7 separate regions of the Homo sapiens genome follow, and regions 2, 3, 4, 5, 6 and 7 are each linked to region 1. Evidence: promoter capture Hi-C in 16 types of primary human blood cells and fetal thymus (Javierre and others, 2016). All regions are on one chromosome and are shown on one strand. The core of a region is centred on a gene start or on the middle of the fragment in contact, and the rest is flanking DNA. Distances in the headings are between cores, read along the strand shown. Region 1 holds the start of ARAP2 (ArfGAP with RhoGAP domain, ankyrin repeat and PH domain 2). Region 2 has its middle 45 kb from the start of PGM2. Region 3 overlaps LOC105374406 (a long non-coding RNA gene). Region 4 has its middle 61 kb from the start of RELL1. Region 5 has its middle 3.2 kb from the start of RELL1. Region 6 overlaps RELL1 (RELT like 1). Region 7 overlaps RELL1 (RELT like 1).

What was found. Contacts are between HindIII fragments. The CHiCAGO score rates a contact against its expected background, and 5 or more counts as called.
Region 2: a contact is called between a fragment that was not itself captured here and the fragment with the promoter of ARAP2 in region 1, in 4 of 17 cell types (M0 macrophages, M2 macrophages, total CD4 T cells and 1 more). The highest score is 9.0, in M0 macrophages.
Region 3: a fragment that was not itself captured here is called in contact with the fragment with the promoter of ARAP2 in region 1 in 1 of 17 cell types (M0 macrophages); the score reaches 6.0 in M0 macrophages.
Region 4: a fragment that was not itself captured here is called in contact with the fragment with the promoter of ARAP2 in region 1 in 1 of 17 cell types (M0 macrophages); the score reaches 8.9 in M0 macrophages.
Region 5: a fragment that was not itself captured here is called in contact with the fragment with the promoter of ARAP2 in region 1 in 4 of 17 cell types (M0 macrophages, fetal thymus, M2 macrophages and 1 more); the score reaches 8.7 in M0 macrophages.
Region 6: a fragment that was not itself captured here is called in contact with the fragment with the promoter of ARAP2 in region 1 in 1 of 17 cell types (M2 macrophages); the score reaches 6.9 in M2 macrophages.
Region 7: a fragment that was not itself captured here is called in contact with the fragment with the promoter of ARAP2 in region 1 in 1 of 17 cell types (M2 macrophages); the score reaches 5.4 in M2 macrophages.

Annotation. Positions count from the first base shown.
Region 1 is chr4:36,242,541-36,246,173 of GRCh38, reverse strand. ARAP2 (ArfGAP with RhoGAP domain, ankyrin repeat and PH domain 2) reads left to right here and starts at 1,660. Exons shown (of 33, transcript NM_015230.4): 1 at 1,660-1,995. It overlaps LOC439933 (a long non-coding RNA gene), which reads right to left and starts at 2,058. Exons shown (of 5, transcript NR_122079.1): 1 at 1,963-2,058; 2 at 864-1,002. RefSeq lists a silencer at 1,285-1,864. The HindIII fragment of the contact is 5,605 bases long and covers 1-2,797 here.
Region 2 is chr4:37,779,459-37,783,091 of GRCh38, reverse strand. No RefSeq gene overlaps it. Among named protein-coding and RNA genes, the nearest start is that of PGM2, 45 kb to the left of the region's middle. The HindIII fragment of the contact is 2,395 bases long and covers 758-3,152 here.
Region 3 is chr4:37,762,653-37,766,285 of GRCh38, reverse strand. It overlaps LOC105374406 (a long non-coding RNA gene), which reads right to left. Exons shown (of 3, transcript XR_001741505.2): 3 at 2,461-3,518. Among named protein-coding and RNA genes, the nearest start is that of PGM2, 62 kb to the left of the region's middle. The HindIII fragment of the contact is 3,026 bases long and covers 233-3,258 here.
Region 4 is chr4:37,745,823-37,749,455 of GRCh38, reverse strand. No RefSeq gene overlaps it. Among named protein-coding and RNA genes, the nearest start is that of RELL1, 61 kb to the right of the region's middle. The HindIII fragment of the contact is 3,020 bases long and covers 437-3,456 here.
Region 5 is chr4:37,687,779-37,691,411 of GRCh38, reverse strand. No RefSeq gene overlaps it. Among named protein-coding and RNA genes, the nearest start is that of RELL1, 3.2 kb to the right of the region's middle. The HindIII fragment of the contact is 987 bases long and covers 1,353-2,339 here.
Region 6 is chr4:37,642,508-37,646,140 of GRCh38, reverse strand. All of the region lies in intron 3 of RELL1 (RELT like 1), which reads left to right. Among named protein-coding and RNA genes, the nearest start is that of RELL1, 42 kb to the left of the region's middle. The HindIII fragment of the contact is 5,400 bases long and covers 1-3,633 here.
Region 7 is chr4:37,624,526-37,628,158 of GRCh38, reverse strand. All of the region lies in intron 6 of RELL1 (RELT like 1), which reads left to right. Among named protein-coding and RNA genes, the nearest start is that of RELL1, 60 kb to the left of the region's middle. The HindIII fragment of the contact is 2,019 bases long and covers 758-2,776 here.

The DNA of each region.
Region 1 (3,633 bases), core at 411-2,910:
CGAAAATTAGCTAGGCGTGGTGGTGCATGCCTGTAATCCCAGCTACTCAGGAGGCTGAGGCGGGAGAATGGCTTGAACCCAGGAGGCGGAGGCTGCAGTGAGCTGAGATCGCGCCACTGCTCTCCACGCTCCAGCCTGGGCGATACAGCGGGGCTCAGTCGAAAACAAAAACAAAAACAAAAAAGAGAGAGATAAAAAAAAAGAGAGAAGTATGTGAGAATTTGGAGAGGGAAAAGGGAAAAAGAACAAAAGAAACACACACACACAGAGAATGAAGCCAGAAAAGAGCCACATAAATAAAATTCCTCCTATAAATGCTATAGGAATCCAGAGAAAAAGTTCCCGTGGTTTGGAAAATGTCAATAAAACTTTCCTGGTGGAAATGAGGTCGGCTATGAGGTATTAAGTTCAAAAGGAACTGGATATTTGGTGTCTCTAGTAAGACAGAGCTGCTTCAGAGTCTCCCCAGGGAAAGACGGTGCTTTGGGCAGGTAGTTAGTGTGGGTGAAGGTGATGACTGAAGAATCCTAAGGGCCCAGGCTTGTGGGAAGCCTCTCTCTTTCCGCACTTCACCAATTATCTCATTTTCATAAGGTCTGCGCTTTCCTTAATTGCTTCACTTCCATCAACAGGAACAGGGGAAAGATAAATACATTTCACCTTTTAATGAAGAGAATTTCAGGTAGTCTGTGGGAGATGTTTATAAAAAAAAAAAAAAAAGCTGGTAGGGGGCAGTGTCTCACGCCTGTAATCCCAGCACTTTGGGAGGCCGAGGCAGGTGGATCACTTGAGGTCAGGAGTTTGAGACCAGCCTGGGCAACAAGGCGAAACTCCGTCTATACCAAAAATACAAAAAAAATTACCTTGGCTGATGGTGCGCGCCTGTAATCCCAGCTACCTGGGAGGCTGACGTGGGAGGATAGCTTGGACCCAGAGGCGGAGGCGCAATGAGCTGAGATTGCCTCACTACACTCCAGCCTGGGTGACAAAGTGAGACCCTGTCTAAAAAAAAAAAAAAAAAGTAGTTGGTCTGTGAACTCACTTGCAAATAACTGGATTTTACGGACGCTTAGATATTTGGAGGTCCACAAGGGTTCTTTGGGATCCCCTATTTTCCTTCGCTGCCTCCTTTGTCAGAGTCCAACTCAAAGGGGAAATGCCCCTCTGGGATCTAACCGCCACAGGTGCAAGAAGGAGCAAATTTACATAGAAGCAGCCTGGGGAAAATAGTGCCCTAGATGAGTCTTCAGTTTGGGAAACGCTGAGCTAACACTTTAAGTACTTGGAAGAGTAATACTAATAATCAGTCGTGGCGAGGTTCCGCCCATTTGACATTCAACCCCCCATGAGTGCGCACAGACAAACCCACTGGCCAGGAGGAGCCAACACAAGGTCCTGGGCATCTCCGTCCCGGGAAGGTGGGTAATGCCCCTGTCGCTCTGGGCTCCAGGGCGCGCCCCCGCAGCTTCCCCAGCGGGGTCTGACGCCTCCGGGCCGAGGTGCGCCAGGTGGCGAGGGTGCCAGGCGCGGCCAAGTCGCGGCGGTCTGAGTCAGTCACCCAACTATGCTGCGGAACCAGGGAGGCCGGCTGGGCCGCCCCCGCCGTTGAGCTCCGGCTTCCCCCGCGCGGGGCGCCTGCTCCCCGCCCCCGCGGGCGGAGAGGAAGCGGCGGCCGAGGCGAGGCGCGGGAGCACCTGAGCAAGGCGCGGGCGCCGGGCTCGGCGTTTCCGGAGCTGAGCGCGGGTCCGCGGCCCGCGCTCCCCGCCTCCAGGTGCGGCGGCCGCGACACGCCGGCCCCACTAACAGCGCCGCCCGCGCGGCCGCCGCCAGGCAGCAGAGGCGACTGCGGACAGCCGGCGGGGACCGGGAAAGAGGAGGCCTGGCGCCTCCGGCAGAGGGGCGAGGACCGAGCGCCCAAGGCTGGGAGAGACGCCGGCGCTGAGCTTCCCAGCGCCGCCTCACCTCGCTTTTCGAACTCCGCGACCCGAGCGCAAGGCGAGTACCCGGGGCCTCGGGAAGGCTGGGCCGGGATGGCCCACGCGGGGGTGGGAGGACCCTGTCTGGAGGGGCTGGGGCTTTTCGACACTTCACCGGGTAAATTTCCTCAGCGCAAAGTGCTCGGCTCTGGTGTCCGCCCCTTGGATTTCGCTCCCGCGTGTGGGCGTCTGAAAGGAAACCAGAAGCCGGTAAGTGATCCAAGAACTCCACTTCTGGGATTTGACCCGGGAGGGTGAGGATCCGGATAGACAGCTGGACACTCCCTCCATTCCTCTCCCCTACCTTTAAATAAGAAGAAGCTGTAGTGAGTTTCAGGCACCAAGTTATTTACTCGGTAGAGATCATGAATTTGCCCGGGTGTCTGTGCTGCCCCGCACCCTGCTTGTTAACCACGTTAAGACGACTGGCCTGTTAATTAACTTTAATTACGATCATTTGGCTTCCACCTGCCTGAACCCGATACCTTACACGGGAACCTGTATGATGTGAGTTTACCAGATTGATCTTTCTTGTTTACTTTTGGAGACAGTTCTCTTGGGAGAAGTGGTGTCCATCCTATTTAATAAAGTAAGTTTTACTTTATCTAATTCTGGCTTGTTTTCTTAAACACCTCCTACCTTGAGGTGATCTGGAGTTATTTTGATTTGGGGAAAGGGTTCGTGGATTATATAGCCTTTGATAATTAGAGGAAAACACAAGAAAATAAGCTAATTTGTGTGGAATAATGACATCTTAGGGTGTTGTAAGTAGGTATCCTGATAGCAAATTCTTTTTTTTTTTTTTTTTTTTTTTGCAAGCTTGTCCTTGAAGTAGGCTGTTCAGTAGAATACAGCCTTCGGTTTAAAAAAAATCAAGAAGTGTATTGAAAATAAGCTATTTTTAAAAGTACATTTAATAGGATGTCATTGTTATTACTCATAATAGTATTGTACTTACAAGCTCAGTATTGATTTATCTGCACTTAAGCACTCTACACCCCCACAGGCCCATGGAACTTTGCCCGTAAGTAATTGGAAGATAAAAAGCAAGCTAACTTTTTTTAAGGAAAAAAAGAGAAATACCTTTAAACTCTTTTTTTTTTAACTCTTATTTATGACTTCCATACACTTACAGGAGAAATATTGAGAGAAAATACTCATGACATTTTTTGTCCAACAACGTTTAAAGAAGAAAAAAAAGTGGGTCATGGAACTAGGCTAGGGTTAAGTGCAAATATCTTCCTGGCTTCTTTCTAAACATATTTAACACATACACATTTAAGGTGGTTCCTAACACGAAGAGGGTTTTATATAGATTTGTCAGTACTCAAAGATTTATTTGAATTAAAATGTACCTAGAGGGTAAGTGAGAGAGCTTGTTAAAACGTATTTATATGGGTGTGTGCTTGTGTTTGTATTTTTTCCTTCGTCTGTAAACCTGTCAGATTTTATGTGGCTTGTCTGTAAAAGGAGAAGCTGATGGTACGTTTAAAAACAAATTCTTGTTTTTCTAATATCACTGCAAGCTCCTTGCAGTGTAAGGCTCATGGATATGCAATAATATCAGATCCAACTATTCTTGGATACTGTGGAGAAGTATAGAACTCAGATTATAATGAATTACAGTTTTCTTAAGAACTTTAACGCATTGAAACTA
Region 2 (3,633 bases), core at 706-3,205, 1.5 Mb before region 1:
TATACTGAATCTTATGAGTGATTTAAGGACAGTTCAGTGATAATTTGTAAGTTTCCCCTCCTTATTAGCTGATATGGTTTGGCTGTGTTCCCACCCAAATCCCCTCTTGATTTGTAGCACCTATAATTCCCATGTGTTGTGGGAGGGACCTGGTGGGAGATAATTGAATCATGGGGGTAGTTTCCCCCATACTGTCCTCATCATAGTGAATAAGTCTCATGAGATCTGATGATTTTATAAGGGGAAACCCCTTTTGCTTGGCTCTCATTCTCTCTTGCTTGCTGCCATGTAAAACATGCCTTTCTCTTTCTGCCATGATTGTAAAACCTCCCCAGCCACGTGAAACTGTGAGTTCATTAAACCTTTTTCTTTTTTTTTGAGATGGAGTTTTGCTCTTGTTGCTCAGGCTGGAGTGCGATGGTGCGATCTTGGCTCACCACAACCTCCACCTCCTGGGTTCAAGCAATTCTCCTGCCTCAGCCTCCTGAGTAGGTAGGATTACAGGCATGCACCACCACGTCCAGCTAATTTTGTATTTTTGGTAGAGATGGAGTTTCTCCATGTTGGTCAGGCTGGTCTTGAACTCCCGAACTCAGGTGATCCACCTGCCTCAGTCTCCCAAATTACTGGGATTACAGGTGTGAGCCACCGTGTCTGGCCAAACCTCTTTTTCTTTATAAATTACCCAGTCTTGGGTATGTGTTTATCAGCAGCATGAAAATGGACTAACACATTAGCTGACTTTGGAATCAAAGCTTGAGTCACATGCTTTCACCATACTTACACTATAAAGAAAAATCCAGATGGATATAACGCACACTAAAAAGTGGAGAGGATTTCTTCTTGGTAATGGAAAGTTTTTAAAAGTAAAAAAACTTTTACTTTATTCTTACCTGTATTTTTTACTTTTTCTATAGTGAAGCCCTATTAAATGATAAAAGTTCATGAACAATATTCAATTCACTTGTTCTCCCACGACCTACTTTGCAGACTGAAGATAGAGTTCATTATCAAAAGCAACCTGGGTGATTCTAGCAGTGAACCCCAACCTGAGCCAGCTCCTGGACTCACAGATCTGCTATTTTTCACTGCAAGACAGGAACTAGTAGGGTGACAGTATTGGGGATAAAGTAATCCAGCTGAGGCCGGGCGCAGTGGCTCACACCTGTAATCCCAGCACTTTGGGAGGCTGAGGCGGGCAGATCACAAGGTCAGGAGATCGAGACCATCCTGGCTAACACAGTGAAAACCCGTCTCTACTAAAAATACAAAAAATTAGCCAGGCGTGGTGGCGGGCGCCTGTAGTCCCAGCTGCTTGTGAGGCTGAGGCAAGAGAATGGTGTGAACCCAGGAGGCGGAGCTTGCAGTGAGCCGAGATCGCGCCACTGCACTCCAGCCTGGGAGACAGAGCGAGACTCCGTCTCAAAAGAAAAAAAAAAAAAAATTAATCCAGCCGAATTGAGGGATACACCAACTGACTCATTGTGTTACAATGCTAGTTCAGAAACTCCCAGGCTACCCTTGTTCTATCATTCTCTTTGGAATGATCAGTTTTGTGATTTGTACACAAATCATAGTCCTAATACAGTCTGTGTTTTGCTAACACAGTCCTAGTTTTAGCTAACCACACAGTATCATTTCTGCATAGAAGTAAGAATTCTCATTTTTCCAATGCTTAATTGATTCTTAAGGGAAGAGTACTTCATGTGATAGGATAATTTGGTTTAGATTTATCATGCTGAGCATCTGATAAGACAAATTAGTAACTCTGCCTGTTTGAAAGAATTTAGAAACACAACCAGTTTAGCCACCCCATGTTGTTCAGCCAGTATACAAACCCGTCTTATGTTCTTGGATTTTTCAGAACCTCTCCCTATAGAAAAAAACGCCCTTTTTCTTTGCTTGTTAAGTTCTTTTATCTTGGCACATGTGCTCAGAAATTGTAGGTAATATCTAAAAGGGTAAAGAAATATAAACAAAGCATCCTTCCAAACAAATCTTCATCAAGTAAAGTTTTATTTGATGTTGAGAAGTCTATTTGTCTAGCAGGAACAATGAAGATCAATGGCCCATCCGGGGGCACTCTCTCCCCAGGAAATTGCAGTGGTTTTCAGCCCAGCCTCTTTCTTCTCTTTGCCTGCGTCTCAGCTGGGACAGCTTTGAAAATCTAGAAGCAGCCATAAAAGGACCCACACAGGAAGTTTTCATATTCTACTGAGAAAGGGGACATAGTAAAAAACAGGTCATTTATTTTTACATGCTCCTTTGCCTTTTTCTCCTCTCCTGCTTATTGTCCCATCACAAAAATTGTGAAAAGGAGTAAAATCTTGTCACCTTAAGATCCACCTAAATGTAAAATGTAGAGCAATTGTAGTTACCACTGTTCTGTTCAGAAGCAAACAAGATAATTCACATATGTAAGGTAATATGGTTTGGCTGTGTCCCCACCGAAATCTCATCTTGAACTGTAGATCCCATAATCCCCCTGTGTTGTGGGATGGACTCAGTGGGTGGTAATTGAACCATGGGGGTGGTTATCTTCATGCTGTTCACATGATAGTAAGTGAGTTCTCACAAGATCTGATGGTTTTACAAGGGGTTTTTCCCCCCTTTACTCTGTATTTCTCCTGGCTGCCGCCATGTGAAGAAGGACGTGTTTGCTTCTCCTTCTGCCATGACTGTAAGTTTCCTGAGGCCTCCCCAGCCCTAAGGAACGTGAGTCCATTAAACCTCTTTCCTTTATAAATTACCCAGTCTCAGGTATATCTTTATTAGCAGCATGAGAACAGACTAATACATAAGGGATGTTGTACACATCAGGGACTATAAATCTGTACAGTTTATGTTAGCATGTAAGTGCACAAGCAGTGGTGTAGGTTCTTGGTTTTGTTGTGTGCTGTTTAGTTCAGCCTGATGAAAAATGATATCACTGCATTTGCATAGTGCACAAACTTTCTTTGAGCAAGAACTTCCTTTTCCCTTGGATGGGCCATGGGAGATACTACAAAGGACAAAACAAGCCTTGTGAACCTAGTGAGATGATAGACAGCATTCTTTAGGAGGTTACAAAAGAAGGTCATGAAGAACAACTATTGTCCCTGACCCAAATCCCCTAATAAGGTTTCTAGGAGACTTTAATTCAGCATTAAGCTTCCACAGGACATACTTTAAGAAAGGGTAGAACTGAATGAAGGTCTACTCAGGCTAGCTTTCTCTTTTCTGGCAGCATCATCAGGCACATTGAATTTCACATTTTTTTTTATTTTTTAGTTTTTTGAGACAGAGCCTTGTTCTGTCACACAGGCTGGAGTGCAGTGGCATGATCTTGGCTCACTGCAGCCTCTGCTTCCTGGGTTCAAGAAATTCTCCTGCCTCAGCCTCTTGAGTAGCTGAGATTACAGTCGCACGCCATCATGCCTGGCTAATTTTTGTATTTTTAATAGAGAGGGGGTGTCGCCATGTTGGTCAGGCTGGACTTGAACTCTTGACCTCAGGTAATACACCTGCCTTGGCCTCCCAAAGTGCTAGGATTACAGGCATGAGCCACCGTGCCCAGCTGAACTTCACATATTTTTAAATGTAAAAAACATTTTTAAATGGAAGTCAGTCATGATTTTCTTCACAAACATTTCA
Region 3 (3,633 bases), core at 496-2,995, 1.5 Mb before region 1:
GTTCCTAGTCGTAGCAGGTACCACATGGAGGTGAGTTAATTTTATGCTTACTAGAGCTGCAAATTCAATTACTGGGAGGGAATAGAATCCTCAGTTCTCTCTCTTCTTCCAGTCCCAGGCCCCAGGCCTTTTTTACCCTACATGTCCTCTGTGAGTTTAGAAATGTACCCTGTGGTACCTCATCCTCACTGATCCCCTCGTGATAGCAGCAAAGTCACCTGGGAACTAAGCTTGCACTGATGCATGCTTCAACACATATTTGCTTAAGAGCTTAATTTGTATTGCTGAGTGTATTTGTTCAGAGAAAAGCTAAGCTGTTGAAACAAAGAAATCTAAAACTGTAGTGGTTTCAAGAAGGTAGACACTTACAATTTATGACCACCAGTAACTGTTTTGGGTCAGATGAGTCAGAATTTCCACCCTCAGACTGTCTTTCCAATAAGGTAACCTGTACATCCCCTAGTTAAAGTAGTCACATGCCAGTTATTTAGCCATGCACAGAAAATGGGACTCATTTACATGATCTCTAAACTTCATTTTATTTTATTTTATTTTCTTGAGATGGAGTCTCGCTCTGTTACTCAGGTTGGAGTACAGTGGTGTGATCTTGGCTCACTGCAACCTCCGCCACCTGGGTTCAAATGATTCTCCTGCCTCAGCCTCCCTAATAGCTGGGATTACAGGTGTATGCCACCACATCCAGCTAATTTTTGTATTTTTAGTAGAGACGGGGTATCACCATGTTGGCCAAACTGGTCTTGAACTCCTGACTTAAAATGATCCACCTGCCTTGGCCTCACAAAGTGCTGGGATTACAGGCGTGAGCCACCACGCCTGGCCTTAAACTTAAGATAATATTTAGACACAACCTGGGCTGTAATACATCTTAAAACATGTGAACAGTTCCATTATATCCTGCATCCCACATATCCTACTGGTTCCCGGCTCACTTTCCCCCTTCATCCTAGTAAACACCGTATTCTTCTGAGAAATCCACTCCAATGTTTTTCTTGTAGTGGTTGGATCAAAATGTCTACAGTCAAAAAAAGACTATTTTTACCTTAAGACTTAATTCAGTAGCTCTCTGCAACAGTTTTCTCTATCTATTAGAGTTGACAATAAATGTTCATTGTGGTAGAAGTTGCCAACTAAGAGAATGTCAATAATTGTAACTGCTGATTGTTATTAGCTGTAAATGGATCTGGCAAAATGAGCTCATTATCCATAAGAAATGGCATACATGTTGATTGCACACAAAAAGTGTAATGTGCATACAAGACAAAGCATAGAAATCACAATTTTTTTTTTTTTTTTTTTTTTTTTTTTTGAGACGGAGTCTCGCTCTGTCGCCCAGGTCGGACTGCAGACTGCAGTGGCGCAATCTCGGCTCACTGCAAGCTCCGCTTCCCGGGTTCACGCCATTCTCCTGCCTCAGCCTCCCGAGTAGCTGGGACTACAGGCGCCCGCCACCGCGCCCGGCTAATTTTTTGTATTTTTAGTAGAGACGGGGTTTCACCCTGTTAGCCAGGATGGTCTCGATCTCCTGACCTCATGATCCACCCGCCTCGGCCTCCCAAAGTGCTGGGACTACAGGCGTGAGCCACCGCGCCCGGCCAGAAATCACATTTAATCAAGTCTTTATTTTACCATCTGCTTAATTTTTCTCTTAAAAACCTCTGACACATAAACATTTGTGATGGGGGTAGTAGGTGATGCTGCTGTCTGTATTTCTTAGAACACCTGGAGGCCAGAGTTCCTACCCTAATTTCTCAGTGTCACACTAGCAGTTGCATGACACAGAGGTGGACCCATCACCCCCCTCTGCAGCTGGCACTCCTACCCAGGCACAATGTGACTCAGTGTGACCCTGTTCAGGTTGGAGCTATCTTTGGAGACACTGTCCCAGAAACAAATAAAACAATATAGGATGCTACATTGTCCTAGATGTATGAGGAAATTTGTATTCACTAACACATTGCTTATACATTTATTCATTTATTCAGCAAATGTTGATTGTCTACTCGCTCTGTTTTACTCAGTGTATTTGTCAGGATAAAGGTTAGACAGCTATAAGAAAGAAATTTAAAAATGCAGTGGCTTAAGAAAGAAAGAAGCCTTTGCTCTTTCCAATCACAGTCCAGGAAGTCCACGTTGGCAGAGCACCTTGGCTACACCTGTTCATTCAGGATCCTGTTGCCTCTCTATCGCATAGAGTATGTCTTTGCAATGCTTGTGTTTTGTGTAAGTGTTTAAAGGCCGCCTCACTACTCCTTTCCACATAAGAGGATCTGTATTCTCCAACACACTTTGAGAGTGTTTACACTTCGAAAGTGTTTACATTTGGACAGTGTTTACACTTCACTTTGACAAATCAGAAACATGTTAACTTAAGAAATGTCATTAAAATGTTCCCATGAAATTTATTTTTGAATATGTTGTCTTTTAGAAAAGTTTTTAGGCTGGGTGCAGTGGCTCATGACTGTAATCCTAGCACTTTGGGAGACCAAGGTGGGTGGATCACCTGAGCTCAGGAGTTCGAGACCAGCCTGGGCAACATGGCAAAACCCTGTCTCTACAAAAAATACAAAAATTAGCCAGGCAGGGTGGCATGCACCTGTAGTCCCACCTACTCTGGAGGCTGAGGTAGGAGGATCACTTGAGCCTGGGAGGCAGAGGTTGCAGTGAGCTGAGATCACATCAGTGCACTCCAACCTGGGTGACAGAGTGAGATCCTGAGATCCTGTGATCCTGTCTCAAAAAAAAAAAAAAAGAAACAAAGAAAAGTTTTTTTAATGTTTATACTCAAAAAGCAAGCAGTGTAAACAAGTTGTCTGCATTGGAAAGAAAGCCTGTGGAGGCACCAATGTGTATCTAAGCTAATACTGTAACCCCCAGTTCTGCTTGCTGCTGTAACCCCCAGTTCTCTAAGGAAAGGTTTTGCATAGAAGTCCAGACTGCTCTGCTCTACTGTTACTGAGCACGGAGCATTGATCTCATAAATCTTTTTGAAGAATGCTGACCTGGCTTTTACAGTTTTTGACATGCAGTATGGGGGAGAGTCCAACCTCCTTCTATGGACAAGAGAAAATAATCTTGCTAGCTGAGGTCATAGACACACTGCCTGGGGTCAGCAGCAAAGGAGGCAGAGAAAGACTGACCAGCCAGATCTCTCCCGCTATCGTCTCTCTCCCTACTTGCCTTGTTAGAGGAAGTCAATGTTGCATTAACGGTGTGTGTGTGTGTGTGTGATCAGAAGCTTTTTTGATAAGCCTATGCTTTGACATCCTAAACCTCAGAGTTTGACCTTAGGAAGGGGTTCCCAATACTTAGAATAAACCAGCCCTCTTCTGTATGCTCAAAACTACATCAAAAGCTTCCAGAAAGTGGAAAAGCAATTTCTTTTGAACAAAAGAGTTGGATGTGGCACACTCACCCTGTATTAATGAGAATGTGGTCACATGGCCATACCAAGCTGCAAGGGATGCTGGGAAATGTAGTTTCTGGCTGGCAGTCCTGTGCTTAAGTGAAACATGAGAGAAAGTAAGAAAAGATTGTGGTAGAGTAATTCCTCACTATGAGGTGGATTTTCAGTGCTCCACAGGAGTTCATTCTCATTTTCTCCCACCCTTTTCC
Region 4 (3,633 bases), core at 697-3,196, 1.5 Mb before region 1:
GCCTCTTAAATAGTTGGGACTGCAGGTGTGTGTCTCCATGCCTGGCTAATTTTTAAAAAAATTTTTGTAGAGATGGAGTCTCACTGTGCTGCCCAGTCTGGGCTCAAACTCCTGTGCTCAAGTGATCCTCCTTCCTCAGCCTTTCAAAGCATTGTGATTACAGGTGTAAGCTACTATGCCCAGCCTCATATAATTTTTATGTGTCATGAAACATTATTTTTCTTTTGCTTTTTCCCAACCCTTTAGAAATGTCAAATCCATTCTTAGCTTACAGGCTGTACAAAAACAGGCAGCAGACCCTATTTGGCTTATGGGATACAGTGTGCTCACCCCTTAGAATATTGCTCCCATGTTAAAATTCTATTTGTGTAAAATCTTGACATCCCTCCAACCAATAGTTAGAACTATAATCTAGCTCTACTAGCCTACTAAAGCTTTACAAGTATATATAAATTGTTGCTGATTGTTTAATTTGCATTTCATTTTCGTTTAAATTTGTGGGTTTTTTTCCCTACCTCTGTCATACTTATTCTTGCTGCAATGTGTGCTGATTTGCAATGGACTCCTGGACTGTAATGAAGGTCACAAAAAGATTTATTTCCTATGTGATTTCTGGTTAATTCATTTCTGGATGTTAGAGCCACTTTTATGAGCCACACACAATATGCCATATGGAACATCATTATGTGCTCCCTAGAGCTTCTGTTATTGCCATCTGTCTGTGACTTCCTGTGTGGTTTTTTGGCAGTGGGGGATTCATCTATCATAAATGATTCTATACAGCAAGTTTTGAAAACCCAGTTCTAAACAACATCTGCCTCTGAAGTTAGATGTATATTTTCAAGGCTTACGCATTTGAAGCACATTAATAATGATCCCTATGAGTCCACAGTTGAAGTTACAAGAGTATAATGTAGTCCGTCACCAGGGTAACAGCTAGATACTAGCACTGCCAATACTGCAAATCCCTCCACAAGCAAATCTTTAAAATCTCCCACTTTGAGGACTCTGACACTTTGGTCAAAACCTTGGCATTGTGCCTAAAGTAGTCTTCTGTTCTCAACATCCAGAATTTTCCATCCTTAACAGTAGAAGCTATATTTGTTCATTTTGTTTTTGTGTCTCACTATCTAATACAACATCTAGCACTTTGTAGAAGTTCAATTAATTTGTGTTGACTTGAATTGAAATGTTGAATCGTACCTTGCAAGGTTAGAAACTTGCAATGGTCATATCTCCGTGCAATATCAGTAACCAGATTTTCACGCAATGTGACACTGGCTGCAAAGACGGTGAATTGCTTGTTACATGTTGATATAGTTTGGCTCTGTGCCCCCACCCAAATCTCATGTTGAATTGTAATTCCTAGTGTTGAAGGAGGGGCCTGGTGGGAGGTGACTGGATCATGGGGGCGGACTTCCCCCTTGCTGTTCTTGTGATAGCGAGTGAGTTCTCATGAGGTTTGATTGTTTAAAAATGTGTAGCATTTCCCCCTTTTCTCTCTCTCTCCTGCCAGCCATGTGAAAATGTGCCTGCTTCCTTCCCCTTTGCCTTCTGCCATGATTGTAAGTTTCCTGAGGCCTCCCAGAAGCAGAAGCCTGTACAGCCCACAGAAACATGAGCCAATTAAACCTTTTTCCATTATAAATTACCCAGTCTCAGGTATGTCTGTATAGCAGTGTAAGAACAGACTGATACATATATAGATGGTTGATTATGAATGTATATCAAATACATAGTTATATTATGAGGATGAATGAGATATTCAGAATAAAGCATTTTTAGATCTTTAGATAAATGCGTATTCTATATCACCCAGGATCAGCTGGTGTGGAGTAAAGAGGCTTGACCTCTGAGTGAGATCTCAGTCTGAATCCTAGTTTTTTAAACCCTAAAATAGTAAAAAAGACCACTTACTATCTCAGCTCTATTTTGGTCTCTGTGAAACAACAACAATAACCCTTTCCCTGCTATGCCAAAGAATTGATATAAGAATTGACTGAGATAGTGTACATGACAAAAATTTACAAATGAAAACTCACAAATACAAATATAGAATTTGTTTATTCATCTGCACATTTATGGCCCACCAGGGCAAAGCACTGGGGAATATAGACATGATAAACAAAGGCAACTTATTTATTTGTTTATTTTTGAGATGGAGTTTTGCTCTTGTTGCCCAGGTTGGAGTGCAATGGCATGATCTCGGCTCATTGCAATTTCTGCCTCACAGGTTCAAGCAATTCTCCTGCCTCAGCCTCTCAAGTAGCTGGGATTGCAGGCATGCGCCACCACACCTGGCTAATTTTGTATTTTTAGTAGAGATGGGGTTTCACCATGTTAGCCAGGCTGGTTTCGAACTCCTGACCTCAGGTGATTCACCTGCATTGGCCTCCAAATTTGCTGGGATTACAGGCATGCGCCACCGTGCCTGGCCAAGGCAACTTATTTTTAAAGGCAAACCAATAAGTGACACACAAAGGGAGACTGCAGGAGTAGCCTTCAACTTAAGTGGACATAAGAATCAGGTGGAGGTCATGTTAAACATACAGATTCCTGACACTTACTGGAGGCATTCTACTGTGATAGGTCTGGGATTGAGCATGAGGCTGCAGAGATTTAATAACTTCCCCAGGAGATTCTCCTGCAGGTAGTTAATGGACCAGACTTTGAGAATACTAACTTAGGGCTCAGTAGGGAAGATAGAAAATTAATTAATTAATTAATTAATTATAATTTTAGACCTCCAAAATAGGCCTGCAATAGTTTATTAAGGTGGTATTCACAGACTGTGAGGAAGTGGGAAACCAGTGAGATGACAAGATCAAGGAACGTACAACAATGGTACAATAGGTGTGTTCTCCCTCTTCCCAGATTTTCTGTGCTTGCCACCAGTGACTCTAATTCCAGCTCTTATTTAAGAGTTGGCATATTTGTTAGTTGCCTTTTATCTGTGAAAAAGAAAAAAAAAGCAGTGGCTTATACAAAGTTGAAGTTTATTTCTCTTACTTGAAAACAAGGTCCAGAGATAAATAATCCAGGGCTGGGATGGTGGCTCCACAAAGTTGCTGAGGACCTGCCAAAACTTTCAGTTCATCATCCTATCATCCCCAGTGTGTGGCCCCTCTGCCTCAGGGTCCAAGATGATAACAATAGCACCACCAGTCACAGTATCTTCCCAAGCAGAATTGAGAAAGGGCCAAGGGAGATGCAGCTGACTTTTGAGGAGGCTTCCTGAAAGTTTCCATGCCTCTCTGCTTATATCTCATTGGCCAGCACTTAGTAATATTGACTCAGCTGGATGCAAGGAGGTGTAGAAATGTGTTTCTTATTCTCCAGGAAGCCACATGCCAAAATACAAGGCAGCATTTCAAGTAGTAAGGAATAAAGGAGAGTGAATACTGAGGTAGGCAGCCAGCAAATGCAGGCCCAGATGGGATCCTGAGGTTTGAAGCTTATTTCCCTTGGCCTGGGCCTCTGGTTACAGTGGGTCCAGCCACTGCCTGATGTTGAAGCACCATTAGGACTGGCACAGCAGATGATATGGTTTGAATCGGTGTCCCCACCCAAATCTCATGCTGAATTATAATCCCCAATGTTGAAGGTGAGGCCTGGTGGGAGGTGATTGGATCA
Region 5 (3,633 bases), core at 597-3,096, 1.4 Mb before region 1:
CCCAGCTGAGGCTTCCTAATTTATGATGGAATACATTTAATTGAACAATGGAAATTATTCTCATTATCCCTTAAAAAATCTATTTTGGCGATAAAATTATTTATTATAAAGTATGACAAATTCCTGGGCAATCGAAGCTCTCCATTCTCCTTTTGTCGACTGTTATGCTTGGCTGTGACCCACAGTTATTGCTGACCCATCCTCCTCTTTTCCTCATGCATATGTATGACTGTGCAGTCTGCAGTCTGTACCATGCAAATTCTTTTACTGTACATACATTCATACACATTTCTCATCTCTCCATCAATCCCAGTCCTTTAAGACCCAGCTCAAGATGCACCTCTTTCATGAAACCTTGCTCAAGAGCTTCCAGTACAATTCTTTTGATCTTCTTGGGATTTCTCCAGCTCAGTGGTTATCAACTGGGTGTGATTTTGTTCCCTAGAGTCATTTGGTAATATCTGGAGATATGTTTGGTTGTCACAGCTGGGGTGGGAGCTACTGGCATGTAGTCAGTAAAGGTCAAGGATTGTAGCTAGACATCTTACAGTGCACACAACAGTCCCCCACAACAAAGAATTACTGGACCAACAATGTCCACAGTGTTGAGAAACCTTGCAGTCTAGCCTGACTTAGCACCCCTATCATTTGATTACTCATTATGGTATAGAATCTTAGGGCTGGATGGGAACCTTTAGAAATCATCCTATCATCCTTGTATTTTATAGGTTGGAAGACCAACCCAAAAGAAGCTGCAGAGAGTAGAGTGAGCGAATCTTTGGCAGGGCTGTGTCCCCTGACCCCTGGGCTGTTGGCCATTTCTTTTTTTTTTTTTTTTGAGTTGGAGTCTTGCTCTGTTGCCCAGGCTGGAGTGCAGTGGCGCCATCTCGGCTCACTGCAAGCTCCGCCTCCCGGGTTCACGCCATTCTCCTGCCTCAGCCTCCCAAGTAGCTGGGACTACAGATGCCTGCCACCACGCCCGGCTAATTTTTTGTATTTTTAGTAGAGACGGGGTTTCACCGTGTTAGCCAGGATGGTCTCGATCTCCTGACCTCGTGATCCACCTGCCTCAGTCTCCCAAAGTGCTGGGATTACAGGCGTGAGCCACCGCGCCTGGCCAGCCATTTCTGTTCACTTATGCAACAGTTCCCTTTCTCCCAGGTAGGCTTAAAACTTTAAAAGCAAAGTTAGAATCTTTTTCTTAAGCTTGTAGTGACTCTCCCCTCCAACCCCTCATGCTCAGCCCAGTACTAGGAACACAGCACATATCTGTTGTCATATCAAAATAGCCCCAGATTGTGTAAAATATTTTATTCCCCTTCAGACATATTTTTTAAAAAGAAATGTAAGCTTATCTCCTGCATATAACCTCTCAAAAAGAGAGATGAGTACATCTAAATCACAAAAGAAATCCTACAGAGGCCTTCTGCGGAAGCATGTTCAACATTAATTAGAGTAAATACCAGCCTAGTGAGGCTTATGCATTTAAATGATGGTGATGAAAATCACCAGCTTAGCAGTTCAGAGGAAAACAGGAAAGGTTTCTACTAAGGGGAATGATTAACTGAATCCTTACAGAGAAACTGAAAACAATGAAAATCAGAAAGGACATCACATTGTATATGTTTGTAAATTTGATCCTATACACTCTGATTTTTAATCCATTCCCATCAATCAATAAATTATTCTCACTGAGGAAAAATATGTAAGCAATTGTTGAAACAGAGTTCAAAAAGGCTAGGTTAAACATGCAATGAAGGAATATGAGAACAATACTTTAGATTGCAAAAGAGGAGCTAGTTGGCTGGAGTTCTGCATTTCAGAGGCAGAATAGTGCAAGAGGAGGTTGCAAGTGTGGGCCCAAGGGAGCTGATCCTGGATTTGCATCCTGGTGGTGCCAGGGAGAGGCCATGTGACTCAGGTAAATGCCCTAATCCCTCAGCTTTGAAGTGAGGAGTGTTAACAATGATTCCCTAAATATAAAATCATTGTGAGGAATTGATGAAAGAATACAAAAAGAGTTCCCACCATAGGATTGGGCTAAATCTAAGGGCAGAATGAGGATTATTGTTTTTAATTAATGACAGTTATTCTTAAGAATTATTAAAACTCTACTTTTGTTTCTGAAAAAATGGAAATACAACTTAGTTTTAAGATTTCCATTTTATGTCCTCAGAAGAAATATGACATTCCCTTCATAATAGAGAATAGAAGTTCCATTACATTGGGGTTCTTACTTTTAAAATAAAACAGTGGATTTTTAGATATACATATGTAGAAGCTATTTAAATTGTATGAATAAATCTGTAGGGTTAAGGATATGGAAAATAATTTAAGCTTGATTTTCTTTCTTTCCTCTCTCCTTCCCTTCTTCACTTTCCTCCGTCCCTCCCCCTCTCTTCCTCCTACCCTTCCTTCATTCCTTTAACAAGACATACAAATGCATGTATACGGGGTACGTGAAAGTAAGACATTTATAGAGAGTGTGTCAAGCAGGTGTTATGGAAAGTTTAGGAAGAGAAATTTCAGAGCCCTGGGTTTCAACCCTGGCTCATAGTAGATATGTCAGGCAGATCACTTAACCATCTCTCATCTGTAAAACAAAGGGCCTGGTAGATAATGGGTAAGGCTTAAGTACTAGATTTTTATATTTGAAGAGCCATAACAGATATACAATTCAAATGTGTTGTTAAAAATGATCCCGTCTTTCTTTTTTTTTTTTCTTTTTTTCTTTTGAGACGGAGTCTCGCTCTGTTGCCCAGGCTGCAGTGCAGTGGCACAATCTCGGCTCACTGCAAGTTCCGCCTCCCGGGTTCACGCCATTCTCCTGCCTCAGCCTCCCGAGTAGCTGGGACTACAGGCGCCCGCCACCACGCCTGGCTACTTTTTTGTATTTTTAGTACAGATGGGGTTTCACCGTGTTAGCCAGGATGGTCTACGATCTCCTGACCTCGTGATCTGCCTGCTTCGGCCTCCCAAAGTGCTGGGATTACAGGCTTGAGCTACTGCGCCCAGCCAAAAACGATCCCATCTTTTTAATACTAAGTCCAATCTGTGGGAAAAGAGTGAAACATGATTCAATTTTGAAATGACATTTTACATTTTGATTAGATTTCTTGATTCAAGCATTTTGTTACATTCTAACTTACAAAACCAGAGCTGGCTTTATAAGTGTGTGACCTGTGCAACTGTGTGTTTAGGAGGGCTCCACAATCGATTTAATGTTGTGTTGTTGCCATCTTGAAATTCTTAACGATTTTTGAACAGAAGGCCCTGCCTTTTCATTTTGCATTGTGCCCTGCAAATTTTATAGCTGGTTCTGGCTACAACTTCTAATTTATAGTTTAATTTCTAGGTCCGGGATTCTCTCCTGTTTTAGTTAGAAATCCACATGGATCGCTTTCCTCCGCACACATTCTCAATGTTTATGTTGATATAAAACTAGCAAAGGCTGCCTGCTAAGACTGCCAGACTGTAGGATGCGCTGCCAACTGAGCGCAGGACGCGCAGTGCCCTCCTTGGGCTTCAAAGGGCAGGGGCTCCATCCTTCAGCCTCAGCCATCTGTACTGTAGTGGCCTGAGCTTCTGTCACTGGCAATTCCCACATCAATGCAATGTTTGTAATAATAGTCC
Region 6 (3,633 bases), core at 334-2,833, 1.4 Mb before region 1:
TGAATTCTCATTACAATTTAAAAGAAAATGTTTCCCCTGGGCTTTGTCTGTGCTTTAGCCAGCATGGGCTCGTGGACTGATAGAGCTCAGCCTGATAGAGCTGAGCCATTTGTCTAAAGGTTGAAATACACCACACTCATCAGTAAATACCTGCTCCTCTGCCCTCAGGCCCTGCCCTGGGCACCCCACACTCCCAGATCCTCACTACTCCACAAGAGCACCTGCCTGCCCAGCCTGTTTGTCAGTTTGACTCTCTTCAACGGTTTTTGACTTAGAGAAACAGCAGTTTCGTATGGTTGAGCATAATTTTCATTGCTGTTTTTAGAATGTGCTTTATGCTTTTGGCATAGATCTGGGTGCTTTATATACGTAATCTCATTTAATCTTCAAAACATCCCTATAAAGTTAGTTCAGTTACACCCATTTTACAGATAAAGAAAGAAGGTTCCAAGTAATTAAATTCACATGGTTAGTGAGCAGCCCAGCTCTGTCTGTCTGGTTTCAAATTCAGCATCCTTTTCAACCACACGATATTGTCCCTCCTGTCTTCTAATATGCAGTTGTCAATTTCTGCAGTCTATAAAGTCAGACAACCAAACTTACTCGGATGATGTTTAAAATAACAAAAAAGACCAGAATACTTGGATTTTGATCTCTGTCTTCCAGAGACCTTCCTTCAGGGCACAGTAGTTGGTGATACTGTTCTTGAGTACTCAATCATGGATGTTTCTTTTATATGAAAAAAAAGTGCTTTTGAATTTGCCCAAGCAATGCATGACTATGTCCTTGGCCTAGAAGATGTACCCATTCTGGAAGTGTGCAGTGTAAGGCATGGATGACCGCCTCACTGCCTCTGTGCCTTTCACATTCCAGACTGCCTTTCGTGGCTGTGGGGAGCTTGCAGGCCTTTGGGACCCGGGCTTCTAAAAGCTGGAGCAGTTGCCAAATTTGTGATGATGCATGAAATGGGTACTGGCAGTTGAATCAGTCGAAATAAGTAAACTGTGAGAACCTTGCCAGGGGTTAAAGTTCTCACGTATCGACGTCATAGCACTCATGAGGGTTTGCTATGTGCTGGGCCTGTTCTGTGGGCTTTCCAGGGATGCTGTGATCTCGACATTTTCTTCCCATGTTATAAAGTGAAGCCCACCGTACTTAACTAAGTTGCCAGTGTTGCACCGCTGGAAAGTGGCGGAGCTGGGATTGGAGCTCAGGTGTTCTGGTTCCATAGTCTGTTATTTTAACCACTTACTGTAGTACCTCTGTCCAGGTGGCATGAAAGAGGGATGGAAAACTTATTCCTTTCAAAGAGGGACAGTATATAGCTGGGGTAGTTTGTAGAAATCCTTAAGCATTAACTCAATAAATTCTTCAAAGTAGCGGCCGGGCGTGCTGGCTCATGCCTGTAATCCCAGCACTTTGGGAGGCTAAGGTAGGAGGATCACTTGAGGTCAGGAGTTCGAGACCAGCCTGGCCAACGTGGTGAAACCCCGTCTCTACTAAAAATGTAAAAATTAGCTGGGCGTGGTGGTGCATGTCTGTAATCTACTTGGGAGGCTGAGGCAGGAGAATCACTTGAACCCGGGAGGCAGAGGCTGCAGTGAGCCAAGATTGCACTGTCACTGCACTCCAGCCTGGGCGACAGAGTGAGACTCTGTCTCAAAAATAAATAAATAAATAAATAAATAAATAAATAAATAAAAATAAAAATAAAAGTACCAGATGACGTAGGCCCTGTTACCACCCTATTTTGTAGATTAGGAAACAGCGACCCAGAGGATAAGACACTTGTTCAAAGTCACACAAGCAGGTATGGCAGGACGGTGCTGGCAGTAAGCACTTCTCTTAATTACAGCAGAGAGGGTGTTTGGGGTCCTTGGAGGAGGCGTATTATATAATTTCCTCACTTCCCACACTCATGGGCGAATAGGGCTGTTTTGGTTTTTTTTTCTTTTTCTTTTTAAATGATGTTGTTTTCCTTTTGGAAAGTAGCCTTTGTGTTTTTACTGTGCTTAGCACCAGTAGGTACCACTGAGCAGTCAATACCGGAGGTGCCATTTTTCTCCTCTCTCCTCTGCTCCCCAGTTCTCTTTGCCTTCTATCTTATTCTCAACCCCGGGTCCCCTCTTCTCCTGTCCATGCCTTCATCTGTGTACCTGCGGTTTCTCCAGGGGCCCGTGAGGACAGCTGGTGACTCCAATCCTTTGCGCAGCCCTTGGTTCCCTTCCTGGGCCCTCAGGTAATACCTGATGTTGCTGCACACCCCTTTCCAGCTGTGGCCTCTTCAGCTTCCAGCCTGCACCAAAACCACAGCCTGGTGATAAGATGCAGCCTTGATCTCTTACCAGTTTATAACCTAGCATGTTTGAGTTCGGCTTTGAGACTGAAATCCTCTATTTTGTGGACTAAATGCATTTTTAAAAATATTTTTGTCTCAATGATTAACATAACTTGAACTTAGTACCAATTTGGACTTCTCTGTTGATATTTTCTGTCTTTGATAAATTGGAATTAATATAAATTTTGCTTTCTAGTTTTAAAAGTGATACGTGTACCATGACTTTTCCTTTACGTTAAAAAAGGAATAAAATTAAGCACAATCTCTCTATTACCCTTTTCCCACGTGTGTTTAGGTTTTCTTTTCCTGGATTCATGCATCCGTAAACATTTGCAATCATGATATATGAATGGTTTCTGCTTCGCATTTTAAGTTTGGCAAATGGGGTGATATTTGAACTGTACTCATGGTAACATTCTTGTTTATGGTTTAAACACATTATGTCTTTAATGTTGGAAGTCAATTTTAATTTAGATAAATATCTCTTGAAGGATGGATTATCAGCTGACCTGCTGGGCAAACACACTTTGTTTGTTTGGTTGTCTCCATCCTCACACAACACTTCTGACAAAGATGTGGGTTTTTTCCATACTTTGCAGTTCTCCAAATCCCCGAACCCTGCAATTTAATACAGTTCTGACTCTGTCTACCTAGAGTTAGCGTCAGATCCCAAAAGACTGCCCCTACTTGGGATGCCAGTTGGAAGCCAGGGCTCTGGTACTTCTGACCTATAATCTTAAATGGCTGGGAGGAGGGATCCACAATCCTAGAATGGGTTACAGGACTCAGGGAAACACTTTATTACATGTACTGGCTTGTTATAGAGGATGCAACTCACGAACAACAAAATAGAAGAGATGCATAGTATTGGGGTGGGGCGCAGAGCTTTCCTGCCCTCTCTGGGTGCGCCACCCTCCCGGCACCTGCACCTGTTCAGCCACCTGGAAGCTATCAAATCTTGTTGTTCAAGAGTTGTTTTGTCCAGTTTAATTTCCAGTCCCAGAACCCTGCCCCGTCCTCCCCTGCTCTGACTTTCCTGAGGTCCCTGGGTAGGGCTGAAAGTTCCAACCCTCTAATCACTTGGTCTTAATGATGACTGGCCCCACCCTGAGACTGTTTAGGGGCTCCACCCCAAGTCACCGCATTAGTGTAAACCCAGGTGTGATCAAAAGGTGCTCATTATGAATAACAAAAGACACTCCTATCAGGAAATTCCAAGGCCTTTAGGAACTCTGTGACAGGAACCCAGGACAATGACCAAATCTGTTGCATATTATGCCACACCTGCACTCTGA
Region 7 (3,633 bases), core at 518-3,017, 1.4 Mb before region 1:
TCTGATTACCCCAATGAAGTATAGGCCCTGAAAAAGGAAGGAAGGGAATATTCATTGGTGTTTTAAAAATTATGTATTCATTAAAATTTTTCTTGCAGTTTTTTTTCTTTTCAAATCTCATCCCCCCAAAAAAAGTATGTTTGGGACATTTAACATGACTTGATTTTCCAACTAGAAAAATTCTGAAAATTTTACTTCTGGGCCAGACTCTCTGGTTCTAGACGAAGCCAGAAGATCTGCACTGGAATGCAGCTAGTGAAGCAGGAGAGGAGTGCTATGTGTCTCTTCTACAATCTGATACAGTCTTTAGAGTTGTATTTTTTCCTGAAAGAGGTTTTTGCTCAAATTTGGATTTTTAGCCAAACAATTTTACTGCAATGTTTTGTTTTATTGTAGAACAGACTCAAATATTCAAATACAAATGCATATCCACTTATTGGTTAGGTTTCTTTTTTTATTTCTTTTGTTTAAGGTGTTTGTTACCAGAAACTAAACTTATATTCTAAATAGAATGTTATCAAGACTGTGGCAGGATTTCTCTCTCTCCCTTCTGGTTCCTTCTCCCTTTAAAACCCCAAATCTGATGTTGGGCATGGCCTCCCCATTCGTCTAACCCTGCTTTGTTGGTCTGAGTTCTTGTTTGTGGCTACATCTAACTTGCCCTCTTGCCCTCTGCCTGATTTATTTTGGCAATGCGGTTAAAATGGTCTTTTTTCTGCAGAAAATGTGTTTTGGTTTCTCCTGAGAAGAATAAGCTTTTGTTCTTCAAAGTTAAATAAATTGAATTGCTTTCAGCCTCCAAATGCCACTGCCTTGTCTTCATTGTCACTGGTCTTTGGCTTTTTAAAAATGATCCTGTCCTAAGCATTCTGTGTCGCATGTTTCTGAAGTCTGCCCTCTTTTGTTCCATTCGCTGATAGTGTCCTGTTGGAAACATTGATTTAGTAAGTTTACATAACCATACTTTAAAATTTTTTATTGAAAATTAATCAGATTTTAATGGACACATGAAAGTTGCATATATTTATCATGTGCAATGTAATGTTTTCAAATGTGTGTACACTGCGATGGCTAAATTGAGCTAATGAACGTATGCATTGCCACACATACTTATAATTTTTTTGCGTGGTGAGAACACTCCAAATCTACTCTCTTAGCAATTTTTAAGAATATGATACATTGTTATTAACTGCAGTCACCATGTTGTACAATAGATCTCTTGAAATTATTTATCCCCTCTAACTAAAATTTTGTGTCTTTTGACCAACCCCTCCCCCGCCCCTACCTCTAACCACCTTTCTTCTCTCTGCTTCTATGAGTTCAACTTTTTTTAGATTCCACATGTAAGTGAGATGACGTGGTATTTGTCGTTCTGTGCCTGGCTTATTTCACTCAATGTAATGTGCTCCAGGTTTATCCATTTTATCTTCAATGACAGGATTTCCTTCTTTTTTTCTGGCCGAACAGTGTTTCATTATGTATCTATACTACATTTTATTCATTCATATGTTCAGGGACTCTTAGGAAGATTCCATATCTTGGCTATTGGGATAATGCAGCAGTGGACATGGCAGTACAGATATCTCTTTGACATACTGATTTCAGTACCTCTGGATATGTACTGAGAAGTGGGATTGTTGGATCATATGGTAGTTCTATTTTTAATTTGTTTGTTTGTTTTCTGAGACAGAGTCTCACTCTCGCCCAGGTTGCAATGCAGTGGGACAATCTCGGCTCACTGCAGCCTCTGCCTCCCGGGTTCAGACGATTCTCCTGCCACAGCCTCCTGAGTAGCTGGGATTGCAGATGCAAGCCACCACACCTGGCTAACTTTTGTATTTTTAGGAGAGACAGGGTTTCATCATGTTGGCCAGGCTGATCTTGAACTCCTGATCTCAAGTGATCCACCTGCCTCGGCCTCCCAAAGTGCTTGGATTACAGGTGCAAGCCACTGTGCCCGGTCTATTTTTAATTTTTGTTAGTGACCTGCGTACTGTTTTCCATGATGACTGTAATAATGTATATTCCCACTAACAGTATGCAAGAATTTCTTTTTCTCCACATCCCCATCAGCACTTTTTTTATAATTGTCATTCTAACAGGTGTGAGGTATTATCTCATTATAGTTTTAATTTATATTTCCATGATGATTAGTAATGTTGAGCCTTTTTTTCATATATTTGTTGGCCATTTGTAGGTCTTCTTTTGAGAAATTTCTATTTAGAATCTTTGCCCATTACAATTTTTTTAACATTTTATTTATTTTTATTGACAAAAATTATCTATATTTATTATGTACGACATGTTGTTTTGAAACATGCATACATTATGGAATGGCTAAATTGAGCTGATTGACATATGTATTACATCATATATTTATCATTTTTTTGTGGTGAGGATATTTAAAATCTCTCTTAGCATTTTTCAAGAATACAATACATTGTTATTAACTGTAGCCACCATATTGTGCAATAGATTTCTGATACAGTCTTTAGAGTTGTAATTTTTCCTGAAAGAGGTTTTTGCTCAAATTTGGATTTGATGGCCTATTCCTCCTAATTGAAATTTTATGTCCTTTGACCATCATCTCCCCAACCCTCCCTTCCCATTTTGCCCCATTTTTAAATTGGGTTATTTGTTTTCTTGCTTTTGAGTTGTTTGTGTTTCTTATATATTTTGGATAGTAACCATTTATAAGATGTATGGTTTGCAAATATTTTCTCCCATTTTATAAGTTATCTCTTCACTCTGTTGATTGCTTTGCTCTGCAGAAGCTTTTTAGTTTGATGAAATCCCATTTGTCCATTTTTGTTGCCTGCGCTTTTGGGATCTTATCAAAAAATCATTGTCCAGATCAGTGTCATGGAACTTTCCTCCTATGTGTTTTTCTAGTAGTATTGCAGTATTACAGTAGCATTTCTTTTATCAAAACAAAAATTCATAATATTAGACATCTGTTTTTATTTTTGTTTTATTCAGACTATTGTATTGATTTTTATTTTAGTAATTTATTTCAGTGATTAAAAGCTGGGTTTTAAACTCCTTACTTTTAATTGTGCCACTTAACTACCAATGGTTTTGGGCAAGTTACTTAATGTTTTCAAGCCCCGGTTATTTCATCTTTAAAATGAGATCGTTGCTGGACATACATGATACGATATATGTGTAGTTCATAAGTCAATCCTTGGCACAGAGTATCTGCTAAACATTCACTGCTGTTAACAATTGTCATGGCTGGTGGTCTTAATTATTTATTAGGTCATTTCTGAAGCATCAGCTTTTGGTACTGTGAATTCCTTTTTACATCTTAAGAACATTACAGCTTTGGACTCTCAGGACATCTCAGAAATAGATAGTATTTGTCAAGTCCCTTAGGAATTTGGGCCATTTTCTTGTTTGCATTAAGGAGGCCTTAGAAATAACCATTCCCGGCTGGGCGCGGTGGCTCACGCCTGTAATCCCAGCACTGTGGGAGGCCGAGGTGGGCGGATCACGAGGTCAGGAGATCGAGACCATCCTGGCTAACACAGTGAAACCCCGTCTCTACTAAAAAATACAAAAAAAAAAATTAGCCGGGCGTGGTGGCGGGTGCCTGTAGTCCCAGCTACTCTGGAGGCTGAGGCAGGAGAATGG